Regions from separate parts of the Homo sapiens genome. Here region 1 is linked to region 2. Evidence: promoter capture Hi-C in 16 types of primary human blood cells and fetal thymus (Javierre and others, 2016). All regions are on one chromosome and are shown on one strand. Each heading gives the region's core, a stretch centred on a gene start or on the middle of the fragment in contact. The rest is flanking DNA. Distances are from core to core; before and after follow the strand shown.

Evidence for each region. The method cuts DNA at HindIII sites, captures the fragments that hold promoters and counts their contacts. A CHiCAGO score of 5 or more calls a contact.
Region 1: a contact is called between the fragment with the promoter of FRMD1 here and the fragment with the promoter of DACT2 in region 2, in 5 of 17 cell types (erythroblasts, neutrophils, monocytes and 2 more). The highest score is 7.9, in erythroblasts.

Annotation. Positions count from the first base shown.
Region 1 is chr6:168,077,877-168,080,576 of GRCh38, forward strand. FRMD1 (FERM domain containing 1) reads right to left here and starts at 1,336. Exons shown (of 11, transcript NM_024919.6): 1 at 1,006-1,336. The coding sequence starts at 1,218. RefSeq lists an enhancer at 327-1,048. The HindIII fragment of the contact is 11,905 bases long and covers 1-2,700 here.
Region 2 is chr6:168,318,527-168,321,226 of GRCh38, forward strand. DACT2 (dishevelled binding antagonist of beta catenin 2) reads right to left here and starts at 1,251. Exons shown (of 4, transcript NM_214462.5): 1 at 862-1,251. The coding sequence starts at 1,107. The HindIII fragment of the contact is 10,835 bases long and covers 1-2,700 here.

The DNA of each region.
Region 1 (2,700 bases), core at 86-2,585, 240 kb before region 2:
CCCCCATTAGCTCAACTCCAGCTTCTCGTTGCTGGGTGGGGACACAGAGTCTTGGGGAAGATTTTGCCACAAACATAGATGTGGGCGTTTACGTAAACACAGAACTCTATCCCGAAGCAGACAAGAGACTCCCAGATTCCCAGGGGACTTGAACCAGGATATTACTAGCAAGTCATACTCCATTCCAGGTAGCAATGATACATTAGCTATGCAGAAAGTCATCGTTCTTCAACAAACCACTCTCATTTTAATTGCCACATTTTCATTATCCACATTAATCATTAAAATGAAAGTACCATCTCAACTCCTGTCGCCATGAACTCAACTAAAACAGGTAGACAAAATGGGGGAAAGGGAAAAGAAAAGGAAATAGAGAAGCATAGAGATGGTGACGTCTGAACACAAGACAGGAGCTGCTCCTTGGAAACCGGCTTCCTGGCGCTCTTCCCTCAGCGCTCCCTCCCGGGAAGGATGTGCTGAACCATAAACTTATTTCTCACAGCAACGTCTATCAGGGATGTTTCCTTCACAGGCCCAGTGAAAGGGCTGGCCCTTGACACCTCACAGACACCTGGCCTAAGCAGAGTGAGGCGGTCCAGGGACTTTCCATACACAGGCTGTGTCCTGAGGCTCTGCTCACCCCATACCCCTGCTCACCCCCACGGCCCTGCTCACCCCCACGGCTCTGCTCACCCTCACAGCCCTGCTCACCCCCACGGCTCTGCTCACCCTCACGGCCCTGCTCACCCCCACAGCCTTGCTCACCCCCACGGCCACCCAGGGCCCTGCTCACCCCCATGGCTCTGCTCACCCCCACAGCCCTGCTCACCCCTATGGCCACCCAGGGCCCTCCTCACCCCCATGGCTCTGTTTACTCCCAAGGCCATCCAGGGCCCTGCTCACCCCCACGGCCACCCAGGGCCCTGCTCACCCCCACGGCCACCCGGAGCCCTGCTCACCCCCACAGCTCTGTTTACCCCCACGGCCACCCAGGGCCCTGCTCACCCCCACGGCCAGCCGCAGTTGCTCCCGGCTGGGCAGCAGCACGAGGACATCCCTGTGTTCCGAGGCCATCGCGTCCATTCCCAGGGTCGGCTCCTGCTGACTGCATGCAGGCCTCTCAGGACTGGGTTCCATACATCGCGCCCCTGAAGGAGGGAACGTGTCAGGGTTTGTCCGGGCGGGGTCTATGCCCCTCCCTCTCGGGGGCACCGCCATGCTGTCGTTACTCGGCCCTCCCCCGCCATGGGTCGCAGGTGGGTGCTCAGCACCTCCCAGATCACAGCTGTGCTTTCCGGGACCCGCCCTTGCCGAGCTTCTCACTGGGAAGGGAATTGAGAGGGAAGCCTGGGCTGGGAATCCAGCATGGCCAAGCCAGGACAAGGGTCAGAGCTGCAAATAGCTGGGTGTGTGGAGGGCGCCAGGAATGCAAATAAACAACCTCAGGCTGGGCACCCGCCATGCAGCACTCCCATGCAGGGTAGCTCAGCAGCCAGCCTCGGTGTGGGCCCCGTGAGAACCAGGCTGGGGGAGACAGGACCCAACTCCTCCACCTGACAACCCCTATCTCCTCAGGGTGCCTGCTCCTTCTTCTATAATGTGGAGAGGGCTATGCAAACCCCATGGGCACAGATGCCAGAGCCAGGGCTGCTGGGGAAGATGGAGCAGCAGCAGGGCAGGACGAGGAGGGCGGGAGGAAGGCAGCCTGGGTGGGCACCCTGCCCCACACACCTCCTGTGGCATCTGTTATCGACCTCAGGAAGCAGCACAGCTGCCGTTCCTGGACAGGTTCTGCCAGGAGGGACCCTGGCTCCCTTTAGGGGCTGGAAACTGAGGACACTTCCTTCCTTGTCCAGGGCCAGCAAATCCCTTCCTGCCTGCAGCAGCTGGAAGGCCAGGAAGGGGGTCCTGGCTTGCGTGGACAGCAGCCGGGTGCATCAGCACGAGGGGTGGGGACATCTCCCGCAGGGCCTGGAACCCCTGAGGCCGCTCAGCAGAGATGAGCAACGCCTTCGAGCTCTTTGGCACAGTGTTAGGTGGGGAAGGGACCCCAGGATCCTGCCTGGCCCTGGGACCACCCAGACCTTTGGGCGCTGCAGGTCAGGAGAGGCAGTTCCCACGGGCCTGGGCTGTGGAATTCTGTCCTCAGCCGTGAGCTCCATCAGTTTCCTGCCATGGAGTCTGGGATGCTCTGGGACCTTCCTCTAGTAAGGGGTCTGGACCTCCGGACGGGCCGTTGTTCATCTTAGGAAATTCGCACTCCAGCCGCCTTAAGGCCTGGCCCGGTGGGTTTAGGAAATTCGCACTCCAGCCGCCCTAAGGCCCGGCCCGGTGGGTTGAGAAGATTTAGGAGGCTTAGGCCTCACCTCCCCCGGACCCTGGACTGACACTGGCTCCCTCCCTCCCTCCCTCCGCTCAGATCCAGACCCTTCCCAGACCCTCGAGGCCACACATGTGTGCCCAAGACAGCAGTGGCGGTCTCTTTTCTCTCCACAGCAAACGTAGAGCTGTTCACTATGGAAGATGTGGGGATCCCTTTAGCTGAGAGCACAAAAAGTTTTAAAAATGGCAAAAAAACCACAAAAAAAAACAGCCCCAGAGAGCAGAGGCTGGATCCTCATGGCCCTGTGCCACTGGCGCCTGAGCAGCTCGTCCCTGTGCCGGGTGCCCTCAGCCGCTGCCTGGAGTCACAGTGCCGGC
Region 2 (2,700 bases), core at 1-2,500:
TGTAACAGAGGTAACACAAGTAAACATATCTTTCTCCAGCCTTTTTAGTTTGTCTTTAAGAAAATACAGCAACTACGAAAACGCTTGTGAGTTGTTTCCAGTAAGTTTAACAAAATCATACAATAACATAATAAGCAGAGGGGTAATGAGTGGAGTTCCTTTCATTGTGTGAAAGGAGGGGTTCAGAGCGCCCAGGGAGTGCTGAAGAGGGCCCGTGGCAGGGAAATCAGAGTCTCTCTCCTCTGGATCAGAGGACACGCCTCTCCTTACAGGTCAGGTCACATTTTAAAGTTGAAGAGGCCTTTGTCAGTTACATGCTTTCCCCCAATACTTTATTACAGTGACGCGACCTTAAGAAAAGTCAGCACATTCCTGAGGACAAGTCGGGGTGCGCTTTACCACGCGGACACTGTTGCCCCTAACCCAAGACAGCAGGGGGGACCTGGTCCCCGGGGGGGGAGTGATGCCAGGATCCCGAGCCGACCTCCGCCAGGGGAACGCCGGTCAGTGCCTGCAGGTCAGATCAGTGCTGTAACCCTGTAACGAACAGGGTGTCTCTCCCAAATCTGCCAGCTTCGGGATGCTGGCGTGGGTAGGCGCACATCCACGCACGGCGGAGCGCGGGCTGCAGCCCCGGGCAGTTTTCAGGGTCCTCACCTGTGCGCTTCACCTCTAGGCACCTGCGCGCGGGGCCTCCATGTCCCCCTCCTTGGAGACCGAACTGCATTCCATTCAAATCCCAAAGGACGTCCCCTCCATCCATCAGACACCCCCGTCCCACTAACACACAGTCGCTGCCGAAGGAGCAGCGCCTGTGGCCCGCACACCTCGCAGCCCCGAGTCCCGGCGCCCGGTCCTTACCAGCTGCTCCTGCAGCGCGGCCAGCGCCGCCTCCAGCTGCTGCTCGGGGCCGTGGAGGCCGTGGGGGCCGCAGGGCGCGGCGGGCGCGGGCGGGGGCTGCAGGGCCAGGGCGCCCCGTACCCGCTCCTGCTGCGTGGCTCGCAGCCCCTGCAGCTCCTGCAGCCCCGCGAACGCCGCGCGCAACCTCGCGCCCAACCTACGGCGGTCCCAGCCCGCGGACCCCGGGGGTCCGCCCGGCGTCCACATCTCCCGGGCAGGGTCCCGGCCTCCCGAACCCCACGAGCGGCGCCGGAGGCCCAGCGCGCGCGGATCCCGAGCTGTGTCGCGGGTCCTCCTGCGCCTCCTCTCTCCGCCCCCGGCTCCGCAGGTCGCCAAGGTGGGCTGGAATCTGTGGCCAGGCGCGGAGGGCGGGGTCTGCACGCGCCCCGAGGTCACCGCGGCCTCCCCCGGACCCGCCCCGCCGACCCCCCAGGGCCCCTCGCCGGCTGCGGGCAGGGCGGGCGCACCCAGACCCCGGGGCCAGCTGAGCGCCTCCGTGACTTCAGCGGGGAGGGCCAGCCGGGAGGAGGAGCCCGGGGGAGAGGGGCAAAGAGGCGCAAGTGGAACAAAGGCGGAGAAAGGCTTGTTAATGTTTTAAAATGTTTATAAAGATAAACTATTGGGACATTATCACATTGCAAGGACCGTGTTACCATTACAGACGCAGTAGAGATTTCAAAACCGTGTTACCCACGTTTCCCAATGGGTATCTGCAGTTTGGAAACCGCACCTCGCTTTTTTTTTTTTTTTTTTTTTTTTTTTTTTTTTTTTGAGACAGTGTCTCGCTCTGTCGCCCAGGCTGGAGTGCAGTGGCGCGATCTCCTCTCACTGCAACCTCTGCCTCCCGGGTTCAAGCGATTCTCCTGCCTCAGCCTCCCGAGTAGCTGGGACTACAGGCGCCTACCACCATACCTGGCTAATTTTTGTATTTTTAGTACAGATGGGGTTTCACCATGTTGGCCAGGCTGCTCAGCTTGCTTTTTAAATTTTTAAAATAATTGCTTAAGATGCAGTTCACATACCATAAAACTCACCTAATTTAAGGTGTACAGTTCGTTTTTAGTATATTAACGAAGTTGTGTTCACCACCCCCAAAAGAAACCCTGTTCTCATCGGTAGCTACCCCCATTCCCTCTCCTGCACCCCCACACATAGAACCACCACCCCGCAGGTTCTGGAAGTTCATGGAAATGGGGTCACACGCCAGGAGGTCTCTGTGGGGGCTCCTTTTGGTGAGCGTTTTCAAGGTGCGTCTGTGCTGCAGATTGCGTCAGAACTGTATTCCTTTGTGTGGCTGAATAATACTCCACTGCATGGCTGTGCCAAGTTTTGTTTATCCATTCATCTGCTGATGACATGTGAGTTGTTCCATTTTTTAGCTATTACGAATAACGCTGCAAGGACATTCCTGTATGAGTTTTTGTGTGGCAATATGTTTTCATTATACCTAAGAGAGGAATGGCTGGATCGTAGGTGACTACCGTGCTTAATCTTGTGAGGAGCTGCCAGGCTGCTTTCCAAGTGGAATCACAGCAGCCAGCGGGGTATGAGGGTTCCATTTCCTCAGTGTGCACACCAACCGCTGTCTTTAGTCCAGCAGATGTGAAGTGGTATCTCCCTGTGGTTTTGATTTGTGTTTCCCCGATGGCTAAGGACGTTGAGCATCTTTCCATGTGCTTGTTGTATACTTCCTTTGGAGAACTGTCTATTCAGATCCTTGGCCCATTTTAAAATTTAGGTTGTCTTTTCGTTATTGAGATGTGAGTATTCATTATACAATTCCCTTATCAGACATGATTT